Regions from separate parts of the Homo sapiens genome. Here all the other regions are linked to region 5. Evidence: promoter capture Hi-C in human tissues and cell types (Jung and others, 2019). All regions are on one chromosome and are shown on one strand. The core of a region is centred on a gene start or on the middle of the fragment in contact, and the rest is flanking DNA. Distances in the headings are between cores, read along the strand shown.

Region 1 (5,651 bases), core at 89-2,588, 860 kb after region 5:
CCATAATTCTTTGTAATTACCTCAGCATTTAGCATAGTGCCTGGCACATAATTAGAATTCAATAAATGTTTATTGAATCCTTCCTTGTTACAATGAATAGCTGTTGATGGACATAAGTCTTGTATATTTTTGGTGTTCCGAAGGATTTCCTGATTCCATTCAAAGCCAAAAGCTAGTTGGTGTGGGTGGGGGCACAAAATCTGCTTCCTATTCCTAGACCACAATGCCCCAGAAGACTCTCAGGGTGAGTGAGGAGGCACAGGGCAAGAAAAAAACATTTTTTCTTCTACTACAGGAAAAAAGATAAAATTGGCGAGTGTCACTTTGGTTATCCAAAAGCGACACTGAATCCTTACTATGATTCTGCTGTATCCACAGGACTTTACATAAAAGGGAAAGAAAATTTTTTCTGATGCCCCTAAATGGCGCAGGACTCCACACCGGTGTGGAGAGTCCCGTAATATATCTCCATGGCTCAGGGAATCAGGGCACATCCCATAGGAAACCAATGAGACACCAACTATGATTATACCCCAGATGAGGATGGTGTGGCTGCTGGACATGTCTATAATCATCATCAAAATGGATAATGAAATGAGATTATCCATAGGGGAAACTTGATGAGTCAAGAGGAAAAAGGAATACAAGTCTAGTGTCTGGAGAATTATTCAAGAATAAAATCTGACTAACTTGTAAACTGTCCATGAATCACACTATACAGCTCACTTCTCAGGCTATCCATGTGAAGCGCAAAGCTTTCTAAGCCATCTAGCCACAGGCTCTCCCCTAAGACCACTTCTGTATATTCCACTCTGTGTACAGTCCTCCTCTTTGGCCAACTACACATTTTGACAAGAGACGTCATAGAGCAGTGAGGGAGAAAGGGATAACTGCGTTTCACATATAAGTTCAAAAAACACTTAATAGCACCTACTATGAGTTTGACATAGCGCTAGGTAATGGAACAGTGGTGACCAAGACAGAGAGCCTTCTCTGGAGTTGACAGTTTTATGGGATAAACTTTAACCAAATAATTAGATGAATAATTAACTAATTATGGTAAGTGGCCAAAGGCATATGGAAACCAACTTTGCCTGGTAGCTAGGGAAGGCTTGACAACCACATTGAATCTAGCAGGAAAACAACTAGGTAAATAGCAGAGAGAAGAGCCCAGGGCAGAGGACAGAGCCTCTGTGAAGGCCCAGGGTGCATGATGTCTTAGGTTTAGAGCAACAGGGAGGAGGCCTAAGGAGCTGAGGCAAAACAACAACTGAGGACTTAAAGTGGCACTGGATGAAGTTAGCAAGGTAGGCAGAAGCCAGCCACTGCAGGGCCTTGTGAATCAGTTAAAAATTTTGTAACTTATCTTAAGAGCACTGCATATTATTGATGCATATTAAACTGGGAAGTGATGTAATCTGAATTAGTTAAAAACACAAAATAAAAATGTAACTTTGGCTGCAGTGTGAGCAATGGATTGGAAGGTGGCAAGACAGAGCATGTGAACAGATCAGTTAAGAGGCTCCTGGAGCAACCTGGGGGAGGAATAACATTCAACTGACTTCATGGTAGCAGAAGACCAGAAAACCAGACAGACCGAAGAGGTTGGAAGAAAGATCTGGTGACTAAGAGATGACAGGTATTGCAGCCATATCTCCAATAGCTCACAATACCCATCACCTTAAAGTACAAATTCTTCCTTCTGATTTAAAGAGCTTACATAATTTGATCTCATGTCCTCTCAATTCCCATTTCTCTCCTTCACAAAAAATCCACTCTGGTCTGCTCACTGCCCCTCCAAATCTATGTTCATTCCTGACATTTTTAATCATGTTCTTTCCCCCTCAGAATGCGCAGAACCCTCCCTACCCAAATCTTACTCCTCATCTTTCAAGGTTTGATTAAAATTCCACTGCCCTAATCAAGTCTTCCCTGACTTCTGCAGACTACTCTGAATCATCCCTTATCACTGTATCATACATTTTAGCAAATGATCATATACTTCTCTTTCTTTCATCCACTTTAGGTGCATTTCCCCAAATTAACCACTACATTCTCAAAGGCAGGGGCAAGCCTTTTGCTTTTCCAATATCTTCACCCCCGAGAGCCCAGTCCAAGGCACAGCCATGGAGGCACCCATCAAATATTGAGAGGCTGAGTGAGTGAAAGGGCTGAAGAATATGCTGGACCTGGTGTTTCTCTAGACTACACAGCTGCCCCACCTGGGGCAAGGGAAGATTGATGTCACTGTTGTCATCTGGGATGCTTTTGTTTGGTTTGTGCACAATATCAGGATGGGGAACCAAAGGACTATCTTTAAGCTTTAGTTGGCTCTCTAGTCTGTTTGTTTCAAAAGACAATCTCAAGCATGTGTCTTAGCCACTGGTAGCTGGGAAGAGACATGACTGACTCTCCACACTGGCAGATAGCAATCGGAGAAAAGATGATCCAATTTAGACGAATTCATGCCAACTGAGACTCAGAAACAGAGCCAGAAATACACAGCAGCCAGTGAGCAAACAGCACCTTTTTCCCCAGCTTTATTGAAGTATGATTAACAAACAAAAATTTTATCTGTTTAAGGTGTACAGCATGATGATGTGATATACATATACACTTGGAATGACTACCTTACCTCACATAGCCATGCTCTTTTTGTTGTGGTGAGAACACTTAAGATCTACTCTTTCAGCAAATTTGAAGTATATGGTACGTTTATTGTCAACCGTAGTCACCATGCTGTACAATAGGTCTCTAGAACTTACTCATCATATCACTGAAAGTCTGTACTCTTTAAGCAGCATCTCCCCATTACCCCAGCCCTCCAGCCCCTGGTAACCACCGTTCTACTGTTTTCATGAGTTTGACTCTTTTAGATCCACATGTGATACCATGCAGTATTTGTCTTTCTGTGTCTGGCTTATTTCAATTAGCATAATGTCCTCCAGGTTCACCCATATTGTTGCAAAATGGTAGGATTTCCTTCTTTTTTAAGGCTGAATATTCCATTGTGTGTGTATGTGTGCATACAGCATCTATTTTTAGTCTGTTTTCAGTGACTCTCAGTCACTGTAGTTTTTTAGACCCAAGAGCAGCCAGTTCCTTAATAATTGGCATACTTTTACTGAAATCCATTAATTTCAATCTCATTTACCAAGTTCTACAGGATTCGAAATGGAATTACTGAAGATTTCCCTTCTCCAGACAAAGGAGAAGAAACACCAAACTAGATAACAGAATTTATGGTAATAGCACAAAGAGCAAAATCCATAACCAGGAAGATCAGGTTCTATCATACCTCCATGAGGAAGGACAGTAATCAATTCTATTAAACCAAAAGTATACATTTATTACACAGAACTGTCATCAGAATCTAGATCCTTATTAAATTGAAAATGTGTAGAGTCTAATACATTTTTGTTCACTCGTAGGTCTAACTACAATAGTTAAGTTCAACTCAAAACGAAGAAATGAGTATTTGGCCTTTAACCATAGCAAACATTAATCGAAGACCTTTGCTGTGTTCTTAATAAATGGTATCTTCTATCCTTATTCACAGCTATACACCAGCATAAAACAGAGTAGACTTTTACTTGATGATCTCTTCTGGCTAACATAGTTTAATGCTTTAAAACAATTTATATACAGTGTATTTTTATAGATTGCTATATTCTATAAAGTATGAAGAATATGACTGAAATTCTCAAAAAGACTGAGAAAGAGCTATTACAAAAAGAGCCTTTCAGAATAAGCCTGATCTGAAATGGGCACCCTTGATTCCCAATCTAGCCTCCTGACAAAATTCCAGAAGACTCTGGAATTACTTGTGGATGTGGGCCTTGGGCAGCAAGAGCTTGGGAGAGTCACTCAGCAGCTCTGTTATTTTCCTCATTTGTAAATGAAAGGGCTGAAGTCTGTGGTTCATTTATGGTTTTCTCCCGCAATCGCTGTAGGGTTATTCTGTGCTGCATCACAGGACAGAAGGGAGTGCTGTGGAATTAATAAGCCTGGCAGAGCCCTTTTGCTTTTACTCAGGCTGTACTGGGGAAAGAGAAGGACATAGTAGAACAGCATTTTTCACATGCAGGTTGATCTTTATTTCTACTAAATTAACCCATTTACTCTCTTTTCCATATGTCAGCATAAAATAAAAGCCCAAATTCAATAGTTTTCCTTTTTTTCACATATATTTACTTCTAATCTGGCGCTCTTAGAAATAGACAAGTAGAATAAACTGATACATAGTGAATAAGTAAAAGCCAAGAAACAAGTTTATTTTTCAGAGAACTAGTTTTCTGCAGGTTGTTGAAAACACCAAAAAAGTTGCTCAATAAATCAATGTTGGCAACTGATTTTTTGGGTTTTCAAACTCATACTGATAAGTTTCTTATTTTTTTTTGAAGGATAGTCTTTTAGACTATTGATACAGAAATTTCACATCCATTGTCTAATACAATCCTCATAATAAGGCAAGCGTTATTATCTCTTTTTAGGAGCTGAAAAAATACAAGATAATTCAGGTTAAATGACTTATCCAAAGTTGCCATAAGGAGCAGAGACACACACAGAAAACACAGGCTACAGCTTTGACCCCTAGTCCATTGTTCTTTCCAGCTTAAAGGGATTTCCTCAATGCAGATGTTAGATCACCTAGGGAATGGGTGTGGGCATGGCACTGAGTTGATCAGAAGACCCTGAAACCTTCTGCAGATGCAGATACAGAGCCTGTGCTCAGGTAATACCTTTACCACTAGGACCTAGTTTTTCTTCCTCCTGCTCTTTTCTGATCCTTTTTCTTTAGTCAATATCTAAAGTTTAGCAGTAACACGAAAGATATTACCAACCCTTGAAAATGGTTCCTTTTTTGGATTCTCCAATCCCCATCTCTCCCCTTCCCCTCAATCTTAAATCTTACATCTGCAGGAGAAAAAACAAGAACAGGCCCGGCACATGGCATAGAGCATGGCACTACCTCTCTCTAGCTCTACCTTGTGTAATTTCTTTTTTCTTCTTTTGGAGACAGGGTCTTGCTCTGTCGCCCAGGCTGGAGTTCAGTGGCACAATCACGGCTCGCTGCAACCTCAAAACTCCTGGGATCAAGTGAGCCTTCCAAGTAGCTGGGACTATAGGTATGATACCACCGCACCCGGCTAATTTTTTAAATTTCTAGTACAGACGAGGTCTCTCTCTGTTGGCCAGGCAGGTCTCAAACTCCTGAGCTCAAGTGATCCTCCTGCCTCAGCCTCCTGAAGTGTTGGGAATACAGGCATAAGCCACCATGCCTGGCACCTTGTACAATTTCTATACCCAGATTACCTATTGCTCCCAGGAAGTTGGTCTTCTCTACGTTTATGACTTCTCATTACAAGTTCAAAATATAGTTTATCAGACACAAAGGACTTTATTAAAAAGAAAAAATATATAGTTTATTCTGCCAATATTTTCCTATAATTCTAATTATTTAATATACTTAATTATATAAGCTTTCCTGAAATATTCTCAATAGAATTAGATTCTTTTCAAATTATGAGAAACCCAGTTAATTTTTTTAGCCAAATAGGAATTACAGCATTTTTCCCTTCCAAAAGCCCATCCTAGATTATAAAATCATTATTATGATACATTTATGTTACACCCATTTTTTTACTCTA
Region 2 (5,239 bases), core at 1-2,500, 910 kb after region 5:
CCGTCACCACCCAGGTGGCCTCGCTGCTTACACCAAAGGCGAACTGGGGATAATGGGAACAGTCAGGCCAGGGCCCCACTTGGCAGGCGTGTTGTGTAACAGTCGCGCCTGGAAGTGAGCAGCTTCGCCCGCAAAGGTGCCGCGTCCCGCGGCGGCCGCTCCTCTCGGCGGGGCCCGGTCCAAGCGCCGCGCAGCGGCCGGGAGCGCACCCACTGCGACCCCGCGCCCGGCCGCACGCCCCCTTCCCGCTCCGGCCAGCCTCCGGCCAGGCCTACACCCCCGCTTCAAACGCTCCTGCGGCCCCCGGCCGCGGTCGCCCCCACGCCGCCTCCCGAAAGGGTGGCCGGTACGCCCGGGAAGGCAGAGACGGCGGGGCTGGAGCGCGGCGCCCGGCACCGGGAGTCGGGGCGCGCTGCGGAGCGTCCATGCGGCCGGGCGGGAGGGCGCCCCGGGCCCCGCACCCTCCCGCCCGCACACCCCGCGCGGCCCGCCAAGGCCACTTACTTTTGGGGCCGCCGACCTCCCAATTCCCTCAGAGGGAAACGAAAGTTGTCACGGCGTCTCCCCTCGGGCCCCCCTCGCCTCCCGGACTTGCGAGGCGCCGCCGCGGAGCCGAGAGGGCGGCTGCGCTCCCGCTCGCGTCCCGTCCCGTCGCTCTCCTCCTCCTCTTCTTTTCAGTATATTATCTTCTCCTTCTCTGAGGGGTGGGTTGGGGCGGGAGGCTTAGGAAGAGAGGAGACGCTCGCAACTTTTCTTCACTCTTTCTCTTCCACCCTCCCCCCCATCAGCCTTCAAAAAAAATGTCGAAAGAGATGAAGAACTTAGGGAGGTAAAGGTGGGGGGCCGCGTTGTGAAAGTGGGGGTTGGGGGGGAGAGAGAGGTGGTAATAATCGTTTAAAAACTGATTAAAGCCCCCCAAACACTGATACATAGAAAGAGGGGGAAAGGCGGGGGGGTGGGGTGGGGGGTTGGGGGAAAGAGAAAGAGTCGCTGGTCAGGAAACTTCAAGCGCGGATGAGGTCATTGGTTTAAAAATAAAGAGATGGCGTCACTTGAAACCAATCCCAGTGAATGAACTCAGCGGAGCCCCGGGGAAAGGAGGAGACAGGCGAGGGCAGGGCGGTGGGCGCCGGGCGGGGCCGCGCGCTCGCCCATCCCGCGGCCGCCCGAGCCCGGAGCGCGGCTCCGCGCCTCGTTCCGGCCGCTCGGGGAGGGGTCAGGTCATGTTCCCTTCCAGAGTCCGGCGACTCTGAGGCAGGTTCCGCGGGCGCCGCTGGGAGGAGCCGGAGCTGCCGGAGGAGGCGGCCCCGCGGCCTCCTCCCCCACCTCTCCCTCCTCCTCCTCCTCCTCCCGCGCCCGCGCGCCCGCCCCCTACCCCCGGGCTCGCGGCCCCGACCCCCGGGCCGGGGTGTCCGCCTCCAGTGCTGCGCCCCAACAGGTATCGGAGGGTTTTCTCCCTCACCCAGACGCAGAACCTTTCCCTCCTCCTTGAGCTGTTTCCAGCTGCCTCACCAACGTCAAAAAACGCAAACACTGATTTGAGAGAATTACACTCGCTCTGTAAAAAGTCTGGCGAATGCAAAAGGCAAGGCTCTGCCATCTCTCAGGAGAGAAGTTACAGGTACTTCAAGAAAAATCACACTACTGTTGTCAGGCATTCAGCTATCTATATGTTTATGGTTGAAAGCCCCCACATAAATGTTCCTACATTACTTTACTTTGCTTATATTTACAAATACAAGGATAAGCAGCCTACATTTTCTTTAAAAATGTTTTCTACAGGAGGCAGCGCAGAAACATCTTTAAATAAGACCAGGGGTTAACCGCCTCTTGAGAGGTACAAAACCCTTGTTGATTTAACTCCACATACCTCGTGCATTTTATTATTTGAATTCATTAAAATGTCTGTTTTGAGATGACATTATGCACTTTGGAAAACGAGAGACCTGAGGTGGTGACAAACCAGGACTTGGAATCACTGAATAGGACAATCGGAGCTTTATTCCAATGTTCTTTGAGCATTTGAGCATGAAGCTGCTTCTACTGAGAAGTACTCACGTGGATATCACATAACAAAGATGTGATTAATGACGGAAAAGCACCCTGCGAGTGGACTGCTCCATGAGCCAGAATTTATGTGTAGGAATAATCTAACTCTTCAAATATTCCATTTACAATGTGCCGGATTGGGACACTAGACCCTAAAGGCACTGTTTGCTGTGGGATATCCATGTGCACCCTGCCTAAAGCACGTTTTTCCACTAGCAAAAGAACTGATAAGCAGGTTTGGGTGGGTTCGAAAGATAATACACCCCTGTTACTACTTTTCTGCCTTTAAGTCCTGCAACTAAAGGCATTCCTTATGATTGGTAATCATTGAAGGTTAGTGTTGCGGGGTATGGCCCTGGGAACTTCTGGCCCATCTTTTATAGGAGGGAAAAAAAAAGCCCATTTGAAGATGGGAGGCACCCTAGCACCTCTGGCAGTAGTAGGTAAAGCCTGAAGGCCACAGATGGAGAAGCAACTTTGAGCCTGTGCCTCTGGCCTCTTGAAGACTTTGCTAGGGGAAGCAAATCTCTCCCACTGCTCCCTGTCCTCTGGTGGCCAGGAGGTGTTACTGCAGCTTCCTTGGGATTATTTGTGCTCTACCAGGAAACCCCTAAAAATCTAACTGTAGACCTTTGTTGGAGGTGTTGGGATTTTTAGGAAGGAAGAAGAAGATAGTCCTTTTACTAGTGGTACAGAGCATGGATCTTGCCTGGAGGAAAGATTCATGAGAATTAATGGTATCCCCTTTGCATGCCAAAGTTCCAGTAACCTTGCTTTAACTGACATGGCTTGAAACGTTTCTCCCCTTTCCTCAGTTACACAATTAAGTTTGTGTAATGTATGATGTGGTGCCATCATAGCTATCATAGAAGTCTCTCAGGGTATTTCATCTATTTCTGGAAACAAGACGTATATTAAAGCTCATTAAAAACGAAATCAATGATTGAGTGATGTACAATATTGGTTAAAAGAGTCAGGGGGCCGGGCGTGGTGGCTTAAGCCTATAATCCCAGCACTTTGGGAGGCCCGAGGCGGGTGGATCATGAGGTCAAGAGATCGAGACCATCCTGGCCAACATGGTGAAACCCCGTCTCTACTAAAAATACAAAAATTAGCCAGGCGTGGTGGTGGGCGCCTGTAGTCCCAGCTACTCAGGAGGCTGAGGCAGAAGAATCACTTGAACCCGGGAGGTGGAGGTTGCAATGAGCCGAGATCGCACCACTGCACTCCAGACTCCAGCCTGGCAACAGAGTGAGACTCCATCTCAAAAAAAAAAAAAAAAACAAACAAACAAAAAAAAACATCAGGGGAGAAAAGGAGCAATGTAGGCTGGGATTATCAGGGAAGGCACCTTATAAAGAGTTTTGACCTTATCCTTGAAGGACAGTTCAGATTTAGTTTGCAGTGAAGAAGCCAGTGGAGGGAAGATTCCAGAGGGCAAATGGCAATGAGCCAAGACATGGAGGTGGAATGAATAATGAGTAAGGTGTATTCAAGTGACAGAAGAGTAAACCCAGTAGCAGTAGAAATCGGTATTTAGCAATTAGGTATGAGGTTAAATTTAAGAGATACAGAGGCACATTGTGGAGGTACTTGAATGTTAGAATAAATAGATTGTTACCTGCCCAGCAGGTGAAGGGGAAACCACTAAACAAGTTTACTTCACCGAAGAGTACATTTCTTTCTTTTACTAAGAAAGGTTTTCTACATACTAACAATAAATATGTGGAAACAGCCCTCTCCCTCTCCCGCTCCCGCTCCCGCTCCCTCTCTTTCCACGATCTCCCTCTGATGCCGAGCCGAAGCTGGACTATACTGCTGCCATCTCGGCTCACTGCAACCTCCCTGCCTGATTCTCCTGCCTTAGCCTGCTGAGTGCCTGCGATTGCAGGCACGCACCGCCACGCCTGACTGGTTTTCGTATTTTTTTGGTGGAGACGGGGTTTCGCTGTGTTGGCCGGGCTGGTCTCCAGCTCCTAACCGTGAGTGATCCGCCAGCCTCGGCCTCCTGAGGTGCCGGGATTGCAGACTGAGTCTGGTTCACTCAGTGCTCAATGGTGCCCAGGCTGGAGTGCAGTGGCGTGATCTCGGCTCGCTACAACCTCCACCTCCCAGCCGCCTGCCTTGGCCTCCCAAAGTGCTGAGAGTGCAGCCTCTGCCCGGCCGCCACCCCATCTGGGAAGTGAGGAGCGTCTCTGCCTGGCTGCCCATCGTCTGGGACGTGAGGAGCCCCTCTGCCTGGCTGCCCCATCTGGAAGTGAGGAGCGTCTCTGCCCGGCCGCCATCCCATCTAGGAAGTGAGGAGCGCCTCTTCCCGGCTGCCATCCCATCTAGGAAGTGAGGAGCGTCTCTGCCCGGCCGCCCATCGTCTGAGATGTGGGGAGCGCCTCTGCCCCGCCGCCCCGTCTGGGAGGTGAGGAGCGTCTCTGCCCAGCCACCCCGTCTGAGAAGGGAGGAGACCCTCCGCCCGGCAGCCGCCCCGTCTGCGAAGTGAGGAGCCCCTCCGCCCGGCAGCCACCCCGTCTGGGAAGTGAGGAGCGTCTCCGCCCGGCAGCCACCCAGTCCGGGAAGGAGGTGGGGCTCAGCCCCCGCCAGGCCAGCCGCCCTGTCTGGGAGGGAGGTGGGGGGGTCAGCCCCACGCCTGGCCAGCCGCCCCGTCCGGGAGGTGAGGGGCGCCTCTGCCCGGCCGCCCCTACTGGGAAGTGAGGAGCCCCTCTGCCTGGCCACCACCCCGTCTGGGAGGTGTACCCAACAGCTCATTGAGAACGGGCCATGATGACAATGGCGGTTTTGTGGAATGGAAAGGGGGGGAAGGTGGGGAAAAGATTGAGAAATCAGATGGTTGCCGTGTCTGTGTAGAAAGAAGTAGACATGGGAGACTTTTCATTTTGTTCTGTACTAAGAAAAATTCTTCTGCCTTGGGATCCTGTTGATCTGTGACCTTACCCCCAACCCTGTGCTCTCTGAAACATGTGCTGTGTCCACTCAGGGTTAAATGGATTAAGGGCGGTGCAAGATGTGCTTTGTTAAACAGATGCTTGAAGGCAGCATGCTCGTTAAGAGTCATCACCACTCCTTAATCTCAAGTACCCAGTGACACAGACACTGCGGAAGGCCGCGGGGTCCTCTGCCTAGGAAAACCAGAGACCTTTGTTCACTTGTTTATCTGCTGACCTTCCCTCCACTATTG
Region 3 (5,361 bases), core at 256-2,755, 570 kb after region 5:
TGGTCTCAAACTTCTGACCTCAGGTGATCCGCCCGCCTCGGCCTCCCAAAGTGCTGGGATTACAGGCGTGAGCCACCGTGCCTGGCCAAGGACTAAGATTTAAGATTTCAGTAGACAGTGTTTTCAGGTATTAAAGATCAGAGTTTTCTTTTAAGAATCTATTTGTGGCCAGGCGTGGTGGCTCATGCCTGTAATCCCAACACTTTGGGAAGCCAAGGTGGGAGGATCACCTGAGGTCAGGAGTTCGAGACCAGCCTGGCTAACATGGTGAAACCCCGTCTCTACTAAAAATACAAAAATTAGCCAGGCATGGTGGCGAGCACCTGTAATCCCAGCTACTTGGGAAGTTGAAGCAGGAGAATCACTTGAACCCACAAGGCAGAGGTTGCAGTGAGCCAAGATGGGGCCACTGCACTCTAGCCTGGGCGACAAGAGGGAAACTGCCTCAAAAAATAATAATAATAATGATCTATTTGTGTGATAGACTAATGTATCTGCCTAATTGCTTCATCTTTTTCAAAATCTTCAAAGCGGTTATGGTCTTCTATACCTCTCCTCTGGTCCTAATTCGCTGCAACAGACTTTTACTTCACTTTCTTCTGTCTTAATTAAATCCACCCACAGACACACACAAACAGGGAGAAGACAGAAAGATTTGGAGACCCCTCTATCTATCATAAGCCAAAAGCTATTAGATTTCTGAATGTCCTGGATCTTCCAGCACATTTCAAAGTGACTTTGTTACCCACAATGGCCATAATGCAACATTGTTTTATAATGATTTAAATTTGAGGTTTTAAAAAATGATAATAATATAGCCAATTATACTTTTTATTCAGCTGAAAAATATGAGGGCCTGAAAACAATGTAAATAGTATTTGAGAAGAGAAGACAAATCCAAGAGCTACTTAGAAGGCAGAATAAACAAGAATTGGTAACTGATTAAATGTGAGGAGTGAGGAGGTGGGGGCCTAGAATGACTCAGGATTTTTAGTTTCTGCAACCGTTAGGTAGAATGACAGTTGTTCACAAATTCTGATATTTTGTTATAGGGTTTTCTTGGATGTGGTCTTCTCTCTGTACTTAAAATTTAAAAAAAAAAAAAAAGAAAAGAAAAGCTTTGTTAAAGGTTGTTTTCTCAAGCCCCAATAAAACTAACGGATAATCCAAACAGCCTCTTTCCAGACTTCCCATCCCCTACCCTTAAGGCCATTTTCCAGAATACTCTGAAATTAATGATTATATTACCACCACATCCCCTCCCACACACCCTCCCCCTCCCTCCCCCTGCCCCTGCAATCTGGGATTATGTAATTTCCTTACTTTCAGCATGAATCCCAAACTTCTTAGCATGACATATAAGAGCCTTTCTAATTTGTTTCTCTGCTTTTGGTTCCTCATTTCTCACGGCTCTAGTATCCTGCCTATTGCTACCAGACTGCCTTTCATAAAATACAGTATCATGTAAACACAAATCCTTTATAACTGGGGTCCCCAACCTCCAAGCCAGAGACCACTACCAGTTCATGGCCTTTTAGGAACCAGGTCACACAGCAGGAGGTGAGCAACAGGCAAGTGAGCAAAGCTTCATCTGTATTTATAGCCGCTCCCTATCGTTCATATTACTGCCTGAGCTCCGCCTCTGTCAGATCAGTGGAGGTATTAGATTCTCATAAGAGCATAAACCCTATTGTGAACTGCGCATTGCAAGGGATCTAGGTTGCGTGCTCCTTATTAGAATCTAATGCCTTATGATCTGTCACTGTTTCCCATCACCCCTAGATAAGACCATCTAGTTGCAGGAAAAAAACTCAGGGCTCCTACTGATTCTACATTATGGTGAGTTATATAATTATTTCATTATACATCACAATGTAATAATAATAGAAATAAGGTACACAATAAAGGTAATGTGCTTAAGTCATACTGAAACCATCCCTCCAGCCCAGTCCGTGGAAAAACTGTCTTCCACAAAACCAGTCCCTGGTGCCAAAAAGGTAAGGGACCACTGCTTTACGAGACACTCTTAGCTTTAAAAGCTATAGGGACTCAGATTTCCCTATTGCTAAACATACTACAAAGCCACAGTAATCAAGACAGTGTGATACTAGCATAAGGACAGACATCTAGATAAATTTAAAAGAAATGAAAATCCAAAAATAAACCCTTATATTTATGGTCGATTGACTTTCAATGAGGATGTGAAGACAGTTCAGTGGGGAAAAACAGTCTGTTCAACAAATAGTGCTGGGATAACTGGATATCCACATGCAAAACAATGAAGCTGGACCTCTAAAGGACATACAGAAATTAATTCAAAAACGATAAAGACCTGATTGTAAAAGCTAAGACCATAAAACTCTTAGAAGACAATGAGTAAATATTCATGATCCAGAATTAAAAGAATGGTTTCACAGATATAACACTAAAACCACAAGCAACAAAAGAAAAAAACAGATCAGACTTCATCCCAAAACTCCATTATATGTGTGTTTCAAAAGATACCACAAAGAAAGTGAAAAGGCAACCCACAGAACAGGAAATCAGTATTTGCAAATCGTATGTCCGACAAAGGTCTGGTTTCCAGAATATATAAAGAGCTCTTAGAACTCAATAATAAAAGGACTTACCAGGCATAGTGGTTCATACCTATAGTCCCAGCGACTGGGGAGGCCAAAGTGGGAGGACCACTTGAGTCCAGGAGTTCAAGACCAGCCTGGGCAACATAACGAGAACCCCCATCTTTACCAAAAAAATTTAAAAATTTGCCTGGTGTGGTGTCACCCACCTATGGTCCCAGCTACTCAGGAGGCTAAAATGGGAGAATCGCTTGAGCCCAGGGAGTTGAGGCTGCAATGAGCCATGATCATGCCACTACATTCCAGGCTGGGGAACAGACCAAGACCCTCTCTCAATAATAATAATAATAATAATAATAATAATAATAATAATAATACTATACAATTTTAAAATAGGTATTTCACAAATCAAGATTTACAAGTGGTCAAAGCACAGAACATGTTCAACATCAGTCAGTAAGGAAATGTAAATCAAAACCTCAATAAGACATGCCTATACACCCACTAGGATGGTTATAACTTTTTAAAAAAGGAGAGAGGGCCAGGCACAGAGGCTCACACCTGTAATCCCAGCTACAAAGAAGGCTGAGAAGGGAGGATCACTTCAGCCCAGGTGTTTGAGGCTGCAGTAAGCTATGACCATGCCACTGTACTCCAACCCAAGTGACAGAGCAATACCCCCATCTCTTTAAAAAACAAAAAACCAGGAAGAGACAAAGAATAGCAAATATTGCAGGAAAGAGAGAAACTGAAACCCTCATACACTGCTAGTGGAAATATAAAAATGGTAGAGCAAGTTTAAAAAACAATGTGGGGCTGGGTGTGGTTGCTCACGCCTGTAATCCCAGCACTTTGGGAGGCCGAGGCGGGTGATCACCTGAGGTCAGGAGTTTGAGACCAGCCTGGCCGACATGGTGAAATCGCACCGAGATCTCACCACTGCACTCCAGTCTGAGCAACACAGCAAGGCTCCATCTCAAATACAATAAAATAACAACAGATTACTTGTAGGGCCCACTTTAGTTACAAATTTTATACTCTTAACTGTCTACCCCTTTTTGGTTTTTGTTTGTTTGTTTTTTGAGACAGTCTCACTCTGTCGCCCAGGCTGGAGTGCAGTGGCACCGTCTCGGCTCACTGCAACCTCCACCACCCGGGGTTCAAACGATTCTCCTGCCTCAGCCTCCCAAGTAGCTGGGACTATAGGTGCCCGCCACCACGCCTGGCTAATTTTTGTATTTTTAGTAGAGATGAGGTTTCCCATGTTGGCCAGGATGGTATCGGTCTCTTGACCTTGTGATCCGCCCACCTCAGCCTCCCAAAGTGCTGGGATTACAGGCGTGAGCCACCCCAACAGGCCAACTGTCCTCCGCTTTTGTATCTACCATTGCACCTCATTCATTTTTCAACATTAGAAAGGGGGAAAAAATACAAACAAGACTCAAATCACAGCAAAGATATCCACAAATCCTGTAACCATTCCCTTTCATTCACAAAATGTTCTTTCATGGATATATGGCACTGGAGGGGGCTACCCAGCTTTATCGAATCCACTTTCCTATGTTTGGAGAATTCTTCACTTTATAAGGCAGAACCTTGCCCTAAAACTAAAGAAACTGAAAACCAGGTATTTGCTTTCCACATCTCTCTCCTAACTGGGACAGGGTTACGTGTAAGTCCTGAGCTTTTCCAGTCAGACAAACCAACCCCGACTTTGAAAAACTGAATCAACAAAAGGAGGAGGACGTAGAGGTCAAAGAGGAAGCAGCGACAGAAGCAAGCCCCATAAGCAATCCATTCTGGTGAGGTTGAAGGCAACAGCAACAGCTAATTTACTCCAGTTTGAATTAATTAATCCTTCCAGCTGGGCACGGTGGTTCACGCCTGTAATCCCACCACTTTAGGAGGCTGAGGCGGGCGGATCACCTGAGGTCAGGAATTAAGAGACCAGACAGGCCAACATGGTAAAACCCTGTCTCTACTAAAAATGCAAAAATTAACCAGGTGTGGTGGCACACGCCTGCAGTCCCAGCTACTAGGGAGACTGAGGCAGGAGGATCACTTGAACCCAGGAAGCAGAGGTTGCAGTGAGCTGAGATCATGCCACTACATTCCAGCCTGGGCAACAGAGCGAGAACCTGCCTCAAAAAAAAAAAAAAAATTCTTCCTTCATCCAGTTTTAAAAGGGAACACTGACAACAGTTTTAGGAGTATCTGTCACCTTATGTCAGAGAAAGTACAAATAGTGTGAACATGTCACCTAACAGTGATGCTTTCACTGGACCAGCTCTGCAGTATAGTACGTAGCACACTGTTCCTGCACAAGACTGGTTCTTCTACCCTTTAGGAAATTCTATGAATAGCCCAATATCCTCTTTAATCACAAAGCCATTTATGATTAAAGTAGAGGGATTTCTATTATTTAAGACTATGAACACTAACGCATATTTTTCTTAGTTTTTTTTTTTTTTTTTGAGACAGGGTCTCACTCCATCACCCAGGTTGGAATGCGGTGGTACAATCTCAGCTCACTGCAACCTCCACCTCCTGGGCTCAAGCGATCCTCTCACCTCAGCCTCCTGAGTAAATGGGAGCATAGGAGTGCGCCACCACACCCGGTTAATTTTTTCTATTTTTAGGAGACACAGGGTTTCACCACATTGCCCAGGCTGGTCTCAAACTCCTGAGCTAAAGTGATCCGCCCACCTCAGTCTCCGAAAGTGCTGGGATTACAGGCATGAGCCACCACGCCCAGCCTAACACATATTCTTAGATCACAACG
Region 4 (5,641 bases), core at 871-3,370, 590 kb after region 5:
GTTAAACTGCAAAGTTAGGCACAGCTGAAGAAAGAATTTTGTATCTAGATGGCAGGTACAAAAGAAAAAAAAAAACAGAAAGTGGCTCAGAGAAATAATGAGAGAGAAGATAAAAGAGCAAAATTAAGAGGAAAGGAACAGGGAATTAGAAAGGAACACATATCAAACAAGAGTTCCAAAGGAGACTAAGGAGAACGAAGGAAAATTAAGAAAAAAAAGGATAAGAATTCTCTAGAATTAACAAACGACAAAAATGCTTAGATTCTAGAAATATGAATCCTAACCAGGATAAATAAAAATATATCCACATCTAGACACAGGGTAGACAAAGCTGCAAAATACCAAAAATCAAGAGAAGCTTTTAAAAACCACAAAAATATTAAAAAAGATAAATGATAAATTACAATGCAATACAGACTTAATCGTACCAACAATTAAAGCCATACACCCTCAAAGGTCTGAGTGAAAATAACTAATCACGTAGAATTCTATACTCAACTAATTATCATTTCAAGAATGAGGGCAAAATAAATACATTTTTAGACAAAGACCAAGAGTTACTATTAACAGACGCTTATTGAAAGAAACACTGAAGGGCATACTTCAAACAAAAGGAAGCTGAATCCAAATGGATTAACTGGGATGCAAAAAGCAATGGTAAAATAAGAAATTGCTACACTGAGTAAACCTAAAAACATGAAACTTATTTTAAAAGGTCCTTTAAACAAAGCTACCATGTTCAATTTTTTAAAGTAATTCAACTCGTAAAAAAAACACAAAAAACAAAAAACAATGGCTTCAGTAAGATACCTTTCACAAAGAAAAAAAGCACCAAACACGGAATTCAAAAATTTCAACTAAGAATATAGCTCCCTCTCATTTATCTTGGTCAAAGGCCTTGGTTTCTTCACCCAAAGAAGGGAAGGAAGGCATTTAGCTAGAGGATCCTTAAGATTCCCTTCCAGTTCTAGGATTCAAGGGATAGAAAACAGACCTTCCCAATTTAACAGAACATCCTTCAAAACTGTAAGTTGTTTACACCAAGATCCTTCATACACAGGGACAGTGCTTTAAAGCAAGATCCAGTCTAAAGCTTTAGATTTTAAATAATTGGCTATCTGCTTCTATGCAAAAGCCAACTGGAAACGGATATGATCTCAGAAAAAGAACAAAGAAAATAATGCACTTTTAAACTGTTCCATTTTTAAAGAGCTGATGGAGGAAGGAAAGGCACGGTCCAAGTGGTAGGACAATGGAAACAGTACAAAACTCAATAAGCTTAAGTGAAAATTTCTAAAAGAAATATAGTATCAATATCAATTGTTACAAAAATAAAAACAGTCATATTTTATTCCTAGTTCACAAATTAGCTGACAAACCCCTCCTTCCAAAATCTTAAAGATTCATTGTAATTTCTGAAGAGTCATCAACTCTGGAATACATCGAAGGTAGACAAAATCCCCAAGTGCAGGCAGCCTATACTCATAAAGGTACCCTATTCTTTTTCTTTTTTTTTTTTCATCTCCAGCCATACAGAGGAAGGTATCCTTTTCTTTATAATCACCAAGTTTCAATCTTCTACTAAGGATGAATGAAAAGCTCAATGTTACAAGCAAAGAAAGCTTTTATTAAAAAGCAAAGCTATTAAAATACTGTGTTATGTAAAGGCATTCAGTTATACTACAACTACTCCCCTTCAAAATTCCTTCAATAAATGCTAGGAGATATGGAGCATAAAAAAGTAGACAATACAATTGAAACTTATTAATTTGAGACACGGTGATGGATATTACTTGATATGAAGAAACTAAAACTGGATGAGAGTTAAGATATTAAAAAAAAAAAAACCCTACATTAACATTTGAGAACACATGTACACACACACACACAAAGAGACACACACCACGAGTTTGTTGTTTCTTAATTTCCAAGACCCTGATTCATATGCCATTCAAGCTAAACCCATAATCCAGATTTCCCGAAAAGATCAGTGGTTCTTCTAACACATCACTCTTATTTTTTAGATAATGATCTCAAAAAACCTCATCTCCAAACATATGTGAATCTATATAATCTGCCTAAATGTAACTGGCTACATTTTCCACTTTCCATACAAAAAGAATCTTTTTATGGCCGGGCACAGTGGCTCACGCCTGTAATGCCAGCACTTTGGGAGGCCGAGGCGGGCAGATCATGAGGTCAGGAGATCGAGACCATCCTGGCTAACATGGCAAAACCCGTCTCTACTAAAAATACAAAAAATTAGCTAGGCAAAGTGGCAGGTGCCCGTAGTCCCAGCTACTCGGGAGGCTGAGGCAGGAAAATGGTGTGAACCCAGGAGGCGGAGCTTGCAGTGAGCCAAGATCGCGCCACTGCACTCCAGCCTGGGCAACAGAGTGAGACTCCATCTCAAAAATAAATAAATAAATAATAAATAAAAATACATACTTTTAAAATATAAATATCATTCAAAGCTGTTTAATATAAATTCACTTCAAATTGAATCATTAAAGTTTAACTTTATAAAAAAAATCTAAAATGATTTGGAATATGAAAGGATCCTAAACAAACAAACAAAACACCCTTAAACTTGACACAGGTCCTCAACATCACCAAGATTAGTACGGTTGCTTAGCATGGTAACTGTGGAATCAGACTGAGGGGCTCCAGCATTAGGAGCAGCCACATAGGAATCACCTCTACTCACTGTAACATAAGACAACTGTTTACTGTAACTCTGGTTGTTCATTTCTCTAACAATTTCATACACACATCTTCCCGTTGCTTAGTCTGAACTGTATACTGCTAGTCATTATCATAAGGAAAAAAAAATCTCAGACTAATATAATAGAGGCCAAATTTAGAGAGAGGAATAAAAATCTTCCTTCAGTCTAGGCTAAATGGACTGATTACACAAAGAACTCCATACATCCGAAAGCACACAGATGTCTGCACTAGTTCCCAGGGCTCAAACAATACCAGTCATTCAATAGCTTTCCCTTTACGTAAGTTGCTATGAGAGAGCTCAATCAGCTCTTGTGAACCTCATAATCCAGGATCCTGGAACTCTGAAAAGTCTACATTTTTCCTCAGCACTGTTTTCATGTACTTTGTCTGGAACTCAAACTTCGTATTTCCCCCAAAAAATAAATCTGGAAATCATCTCTTCTGTTTGACAAATGATGTACTCTACCTATAATTACTTTTCAACTAAAACCACAATCCACGATACAAATCTAAGATCATTAACACTGAAAGATCATCTGATGAATATATTTTTCAGTGTAGGAGTTTAAAATATAATTTTAAATACGCTCCATCATTTGTACATATATCAAATGTATATATACCATTTGACCAGATTCTATTTGTTTCCAGTTGAGTCGTTTTTAAAATAACCATGACACAAAATGACTTCTCAAAATTAAAAGAAATTTTGAGAGGACTGTTAAAGCTGGGGAGGGGGGTTGAATTTACCCGCTCTCTCTCCCCTACTCTCCCCTCCTCTGCCTCCCACATTAACCACACACATCAAAAATAATACAAAATATTTCACTGGGTGTTTGACCAAGCCTTTAGTCCACAGAAAGAGTTATTCTTCACTGAACCACCTTCAGAAGCTAAATAACACTACCTTCTACCTTCAAAGTAAATTGCTACTGATTCTTCCAATAATCTTTTTTATCAGCTAAGTCTTTGGTGAATTCTCACATTCAATAATGAGAAATAACAAGGATAAATTAAAGCCACAGAAACTCTAAAGTATTTTTTAATCAAATGGCGAAATTACTTCAGAAGATACTTATCAGACCTGCTACCCAGAAGTAAAGCTCATTAGTTTTGGGGAACAAAATGAAAATGATTAATTTACTCACTGAACTGTTAGATCCTGAAGAGTCAAGAGGAACTATATACATTCAGTTCCCTTTAATAATGTACTATCAGGTAATCATTAATCTCTTATAGAAATGATCAAGATCCCATTCCAAAATTTGGTAATGAAGCTCATAACAGCTCTTGTGCCCCTTCTAATTATTTTAACACTCTTCCTCTCTTCACATTCATGTTACATAATGCAAATAAACATGCTTTGAAGAAGAAAAAGTTGTCTCTCCCAAGTTTTCTGTCCTTAAACAGTAAAGATAAACCAAACCCCCTCTCTCCAACCAGAGTACAAAATGCAGAACTCTGAACATAATAACCATTTAACAGATATTTCATTAAATTTCAATCATCACCCTTACAGTGGTAAAATTGAACTTGTCAAGAAGAGGGGAAAAAAGAACTTTATCTTTTCACCACGGTATTCTTCCCTAATGACGACTACAAGCACCAAAATCCTATGTGTTCTACAAAGCAGTAACCTCAGAAACATTTCAACACCCTCTGAGCCTTACAAACTCTGTTAGCAAAACACAAACTCCGTTTCTCAAAAATATCTATAAAGTTCTCAACAACCAAATTCTTTGATAACTACAGTTACATCTGAGACCTCCTCCTCAGGACATCCAATCGTTTTTCCTACGATCAGAGCCACTACAATATTTCCTGGTGCTTTAAGAGCACCATCTTGCTTCAACAAACACGTTTTAATTTCACTCTAAAAAATACATATTTGTATTTCCAGACATCTCCCTCTAAAATTTCCCTATACTACTGCCCACATAATCCTTTACAGTCAAATCAGTCTTCTCATTTTTCTACAACATGGCATCCTGTTCAACCTCTGTAACCAGGCCTGATATCAAGATAAAGAAGCACATATAAACCTTTCTTCCATTCTCCCCAAGTTCTCATTTATTACATAAAAAGAATTCACTCCTTTCTATAAGTGAAATGAGTTTTAAAGCATTCTAATACAACTGAAAGCTAAAGAAAACAAAGTATTAAAATAGTACAGGTTATTTATCTTTGGATTTTAACCAAATATTAGTCATTTTAGGTTCATGTTCAGATAGTTATCTATACTTAGCCATGACAGACTAGCCATGACAATTTATTCAATAAAGAAATATCACAAAATGGTGTATACTAATAGTAGAAATGAGACATAGTAACAGAGAAGCAATGTGAGGATACAGTTCACACTCTGAAATGAGATTTACTCAGAGCTTTAAGTTTTCCTTCTCATTAGAAAATAAACCTTTATTGCAAATATATGTTTAGCTAACTAGAAATGAGTTATTTAATAATTTTTATTTTTCATTCAATACTGACATTAAATAACGCTTCAGAGTGTAACAAAAAAACACTAGTATCACAGTATCATTGTGTATATAATAAAAGGTATAAGATCTAGATTAGTCTATCTCATCTTGGGCTATCAAATACTTCTCATTTCATTCCTTCTTCTCTCTCTTTAAATTATCTTCTGATATCACAAAAAATAAATACAGAAGAAAACCCAAGAAATATAAACATGGCTATTAGAAACCCAAAACGATTTACAGAAACACTAAGAACACAACACACTGGGCACAGTGGCTCACACCTGTAATCCCAGCACTTGGGGAGGCCAAGGCAGAGCGATTGATCACTTAAGCCCAGGGGTTCAAGACCAGCCTGGGCAACACGGTGAAATTCTGTCTCTACAAAAAAAAATTTTTTTGAGACAAAGTCTCACTCTGTTGCTCAGGCTGGA
Region 5 (5,578 bases), core at 872-3,371:
CTCTGCTAAGGAGGCATTTGTATATATTTTCTTATTTAATAAGATAATCTTATGAGCTAGGTACTATTTCTCCCCATTTTACAGAAGCTTAGTGACTGTGTTGTCAGGGATCACATTGCTAAGTGATGTGGAAGACATAACCTAGCAATGGGACATCTAAACCAATGTCTGCAACATCAATTAAGAAAAGCAAAAGAGGCCGGGCGCGGTGGCTCACGCCTGTAATCCCAGCAATTTGGGAGGCCGAAGTGGGTGGATCACGAGGTCAGGAGATTGAGACCACGGTGAAACCCCGTCTCTACTAAAAATACAAAAAAGATTAGCCGGGCGCGGTGGCGGGCACCTGTAGTCCCAGCTACTCGGGAGGCTGAAGCAGGAGAATGACGTGAACCCGGGAGGCGGAGCTTCCAGTGAGCCGATATCGTACCACTGCACTCCAGCCTGGGCGACATAGCAGACTCCGTCTTAAAAAAAAAAAAAAAAAAGCAAAAGAATACAGAAAATTGTTAAAGGGGAGAAGGGGGTGGTCAAAGGCAGAGGAGTCGGTGTGGACAAGACAGAGATCTCTTGGAGAGAGGGCAGGACTACCAGTTGACAAAACCTGTTCAGGTTCCTGGAGGCTCACAACCACCAGTTCCCATCATCCCAGCAACAGCACTCTTTCCCACCCTAGCCTCGTTCGTAATGATCTGATCAATGTGTGAACAAAAATATTGTGTGTACAAGTCTCAACACATTTGATAATGTGAAGAGGTGAAGGAAAGTGGGTAGGAAAAATCTGTAGGGTGGGGAGACTCGGGGAAATGTGTCCTGGTCCAGTGCAGGTAACATATATGGGTATATATGCGTATATACATATTTATACCATATTTAATATATTACTCTATTAAGAAATTATAACAAATTTCCTTTTACATTACACATCCACATATTAAACCCCCAATATGTGCTAACAAGGTTAGAATTTAAGTATAATGATAATGTTCTCAGTTTTTTGTGGTGGACACTTTAAGAGAGTGTAAATAATAATAAAAATAATAGAGTGATCAGATCACTTGTGCTCAGGGCTAGACCCTTCAGCCCCAACGGCCTTAACCCCCCTCAACTGCTTTTCCAACCAAATATTCCTCCCCCTGCAGGATCCCAGGGCCATCCAATCAACCGGCCAATGACGGTTTCAGAGAAGCGGTCCTGGGGAGGGGTATTATCTGCAGGAACACGTCCTGCCAACTTTGTAGTCGAGTCACCTATTTCGGTTGGTAGCGGCCGCTATTTCTTTAAAAGGGCAGTGGATTTCGAAACAGGAGGGGGAGGTCAGGAAAAGGAACTCAGCTGCCTTTGATAACTGCCCTGCAGCCTTCCCTTCCCGGAGCGCGTGCTCGGCTCGGGAAGCGCCCGCGGCCGCCGCATCCCCGAGCGGGCGCGTGGCGCCACCTCTTTCCGGGGCGCCCACCTTCCCCGGGAATCCCCCCGCCCGACGGTCCCCCAGCGTCTGCGGCGCGGCCGCCCCGGCTTTGTCTCCGGCGTCGCGCTCGGGCGCCCGCTCTCCCCACATTTCCCCGTGTGCAGGCTGTAACCCGATCTCCCATTTCCTGGTGGATTCTCTTAAAGAGGCAGCGGTCGAGAAGCAGAACAAAGGCTATTGTTTTATTTCCTCCTTCGGATTCCGCGTCCTAACCGGAATGGCCCTTCATAGATAATTACTTTCGTTGCATCTGCGCTTAGTGAAACGTTTCAAAACCCTTGTGCACATCGATGTATCCAAGAGACGGAGCCAGGGGAGGTGGGAGGAGTTTAATAAAACCTGTTTTGTGGTGTCTGGGGCCACAATGTAACGTTTTTTAAAGGTGTCTTCCTTAAGCCCGGAAATTGGCTCGGCCAGCGGGAGGTCTCGCGGCGTGGAGGGCGGGCGCCCGCACCGGGGGCCGGCCTGGGGGGCTGCGCCGCTCGCCCCGCTCGCAGCCGCGGCCCCACGCGGCCCCGCTACCCGGGTTTCCTCCGCCCGCGCCCCCGCGGCCGCCCCTCCCCCGCGCAGCTTTTATTTCCCCGATGCCGGGCTGTAACCCGAGCTTTTATTTCCTGGTGGCTCCTTTAAGAGGCAGAGCTCAGTGCTGGGAATTCACGTCAGTTTCTGCACTGAAACTCTCAAGATCAATGAGCAAAGAGCTTTCTCAGTTCTGCCTTTCAGTTTCTCTCTTCCAGGAAGGAAAACATTCGAGAGAGCGAGGGAGAGCCGCGGGAGGGCGGGGGGCGGGGGCGCCGGCTGCGGGTGGGAGGAGAGACCGGGAGGCCGGCCGGGCTGCGTCCCGGGTCCCCGCGCCGCGCCGCGACCTGCAGACCCCGCCGCCGCGCTCGGGCCCGTCTCCCACGCCCCCGCCGCCCCGCGCGCCCAACTCCGCCGGCCGCCCCGCCCCGCCCCGCGCGCTCCAGACCCCCGGGGCGGCTGCCGGGAGAGATGCTGGAAGAAACTTCTTAAATGACCGCGTCTGGCTGGCCGTGGAGCCTTTCTGGGTTGGGGAGAGGAAAGGAAAGTGGAAAAAACCTGAGAACTTCCTGATCTCTCTCGCTGTGAGACATGTCTGAGACTCCTGCTCAGTGTAGCATTAAGGTAAAAATCTTCTCCCCTCCTTCTACGTGGTGGAAACCCTGAGCTGCACCGGCCAGGGCAGTCGTGCTGGGCTCCTCAGAGCAGGCTGTTGCAGTTGCTCTGTTCGCAGGAAATTATTTGGGGCGAGAGGGAAAGAGATGCAGCTCGCGGTGGCTGCTGTACCCTTTAGCGTAACCTTGCTACTCCCCCCCACCGCCGAGCCCCTGCCGGCTCCTCGGCCCCCACCCCCTTGCTTTTTGACAATGAAATGCCGGTCACAATTGGTCAGAGCAACCCGGATTGTCTCCAGAACCGTAAAACACCCCCGTAATTAGTGCGCTTAAAAAAAAAAAAAACAAAAAACAAAAAAAAAAAACCTGCTCCCTATTCCTACACCCAACATGTGACTGAAATATAACTTTTGTTCCCGAGGGGTGGTCGTCTTAGAAAAAAAGTTGTTCAGTTTCCACTGCGATAGAATCTTTTTATTTTTTTAAAGGACTCTCTGGGTCTGATCAGACAGGATTTTTTTCCCCCTCGTCTGATTGTAATTGCAAGCGCTGTCGGAGAGACAGTCCTGGTGTCAGCTTTTCCTAGGCATTGCACAATGAATTTTTTTTTAAAACCAAGGTGAATAAAGTTGCTGAATAGTTATTTTACTCCGATCCATATGAAAGTTGAGCAATCCCAAAGTAGAAAACTCCTGTGATGGAGGGAGAGGAAGAACTAAGCAACCAGGCAAAATGACCTTCTGTGTTTGACAGTGCAGAGAGGCTATCTAAGCAGCACTCTGTAAATGCAGGGCGGTAGATGTTTGTAAACACACTGCTGGGCTACCCAGTAGTTGTGTGTATGCATGTCTATATATCTGTAAAGACTGTGGTGCTGCGGTTTGTTGCTTCTAAAAAGTTGTTGTAAAGTTTGCCACCATTGGGAGGCAGGATGATTTATCCATCTACCCGTGTTATTTTTCCCATCGCTGCATTTATTGTACACTTTATTCATTTCGCTGTTCCACCAGTACCCAGGTAGAAAGCCTTCCGCTCTTGTGAGAGGCTGAAGCTGCTGAAGTTTGTTTTTGGTTTGGCCTATTTAATGTGTGTTCACTGAATGGACACTACAGCAACAATGAACAAATAACCTGTTTTCTTCGTCTGTGGGGAGTTAGAAAAACCCTTCCTGGTTTAACACTGCCTTTCAATTAGAGTCTGTGTAGGGGAAACGCAGTAGTTCATCATACGTGCTTACTAGGTTTTTTATAATTAGAATCACATTTTGGTGTTTCTTATCAGAAAAGATATTCATGGGTTTGAGGATAGGCTAATGTGAAATCAAAAGGTGGTTTGGGCTTCTTTGTTTTTGCCTCACAAAAATGCCTAATGGAACTTTTAGGCTTTTGTGTTTGTACATAACTGGAGGTAGCAGTATGTATGTCTGTGGGCATGGGGCGTGCCACACTAAAGAACTTAGGGTACTTTGATATTAATACTTCAAAACCAGTTTCTTTTGCGGTATAAATTAGATTCTACACAGAGTTCAGGAAAATCCTGCGGTATAGATAATCTAATTTATTTGACGCTTCATAACATAGAGGTAACTAAATAGTAGGATATTCAATAAATAAATTGTATTTGGCTCAGTGGCAATAAACCCGACATCAGGAAAATCTGCCAACTACAGATCAGTAACTTTAGGGCAAAAACAACAAAAAACAATGCTTTCTGTGACGTTTCTTGATCCTCTTCTATACTGCATCCCCACCGTTTTGATGGGCTTATGGTGGTGTGCTGGCTGCAGACTGCTACTGAGTGGTTTGTTTCATTGTGCTCCAGTCGGAAAAAGAGTACAACAGTCCCTTGCCTTACTCACATACAGAACCAATCCCAAGCAAAACGCGTTCTTAAATGCAACATGAAAATTGTCTGTAATTTGCATATCATTTTTTTCCTTATTGCTTACAACTCAGTTCTTTCAGGGTGCCTCTTTTCATTACTGTGTACTTCTATGTAATTAAAATAGATTTAATGTTCTTTACCAGAAAGGAAAGAATCACTTTTATTTTGGATCGTTCTTTATGGAACGAGTATGTATTTGCTTAGACTGCATGTGTCTAGGTGAACGTATGTGAAGAGTATCTTTCCATGGAGTTTGTTTAATTCAGTGTTCCAATAATAAGCACTAGAGATCAAGGACTGGGATTATTCCAGGTCATCTGAAATGTTCTGGTGATGTGTGCTGCGTTTCATTTAGTCCTTGGGATGTGGTACGGTGACTGCATAATAAAAAATGTTTGCTGGTAACCCACAAGCAAGTTGCTTGCTTCTAGAGTCCAGTAAACAATATGCTTTTCTGTGTAGTGAAGAACGAATGTCAGAGGTTTTCAAGGATGAGCTGATGAACCTGATATACCGAACTCCTGTGACACAAAAGGCTCTCACTGTGGAGAGGTTTTTCCCAGTCCTCCTCTCCACTCCTGAAACCGTCCTCACTTGCTTTCATTCCTTACAAGTAGCGGGTCAGCAGGCAGACAGTTCCTCAGCGGCTGGTGAGATGCAGCCACAGAGGGAAGTACTTTGTTTATTTCTGAGCAGTGCCTGCTCTGCTAGAAAAGAGTAGTGTCCGATTTGGGTGGAGTTTCCAAGGTGAAAGTTTCTGAATTGGTCAATCAGTGACGCCTTTGTAAAGATGGCTCATGTGGTGGTCGCTCGCAATGAATGCCTGATAAGGGCTTTTCTGTTTCTTTTGCACTGTGTAAGTTTGCTCCCATCGCCTGGGGAAGTTAATATCAGACACACACTTTTTACGGTAGAAGAGAGGTTGACTACTCCAAGGGCACTGAAACTCTCACTGAGCCTTATTGTTTCTCTACACGCGACTTGCAGAAAGCAGGAGTGCTCGAGCACTCCTGGGGGGGTCTGTCCTACAACCCTTGAAGGTTGTGGCACTGTTGTCATGGAAGTTCAAATGCTTCAATTCCTGACCATTTGGGGT

Evidence for each region. Contacts are between HindIII fragments. The study calls those that stand out against the background at their distance.
Region 1: a contact is called between a fragment that was not itself captured here and the fragment with the promoter of ETV6 in region 5, in 1 of the 25 tissues and cell types used here (hippocampus).
Region 2: a contact is called between the fragment with the promoter of DUSP16 here and the fragment with the promoter of ETV6 in region 5, in 1 of the 25 tissues and cell types used here (hippocampus).
Region 3: a fragment that was not itself captured here is called in contact with the fragment with the promoter of ETV6 in region 5 in 2 of the 25 tissues and cell types used here (hippocampus and thymus).
Region 4: a contact is called between a fragment that was not itself captured here and the fragment with the promoter of ETV6 in region 5, in 2 of the 25 tissues and cell types used here (dorsolateral prefrontal cortex and mesenchymal stem cells).

What each region holds. Positions count from the first base shown.
Region 1 is chr12:12,509,671-12,515,321 of GRCh38, forward strand. The region is part of intron 3 of DUSP16 (dual specificity phosphatase 16); the gene reads right to left. Among named protein-coding and RNA genes, the nearest start is that of DUSP16, 50 kb to the right of the region's middle. The HindIII fragment of the contact is 5,128 bases long and covers 1-3,902 here.
Region 2 is chr12:12,561,613-12,566,851 of GRCh38, forward strand. It overlaps DUSP16 (dual specificity phosphatase 16), which reads right to left and starts at 1,251. Exons shown (of 7, transcript NM_030640.3): 1 at 505-1,251. RefSeq lists silencers at 151-350, 371-490, 521-600, 1,051-1,560. The HindIII fragment of the contact is 19,289 bases long and covers 1-5,239 here.
Region 3 is chr12:12,215,564-12,220,924 of GRCh38, forward strand. All of the region lies in intron 2 of LRP6 (LDL receptor related protein 6), which reads right to left. Among named protein-coding and RNA genes, the nearest start is that of LRP6, 49 kb to the right of the region's middle. RefSeq lists an enhancer at 24-523. The HindIII fragment of the contact is 5,233 bases long and covers 1-4,122 here.
Region 4 is chr12:12,238,161-12,243,801 of GRCh38, forward strand. The region is part of intron 2 of LRP6 (LDL receptor related protein 6); the gene reads right to left. Among named protein-coding and RNA genes, the nearest start is that of LRP6, 26 kb to the right of the region's middle. The HindIII fragment of the contact is 5,026 bases long and covers 1-4,633 here.
Region 5 is chr12:11,647,553-11,653,130 of GRCh38, forward strand. ETV6 (ETS variant transcription factor 6) reads left to right here and starts at 2,122. Exons shown (of 8, transcript NM_001987.5): 1 at 2,122-2,608. The coding sequence starts at 2,576. RefSeq lists enhancers at 1,025-1,124, 5,162-5,271 and silencers at 1,305-1,544, 1,835-2,044, 2,255-2,304, 2,315-2,474. The HindIII fragment of the contact is 9,953 bases long and covers 1-5,578 here.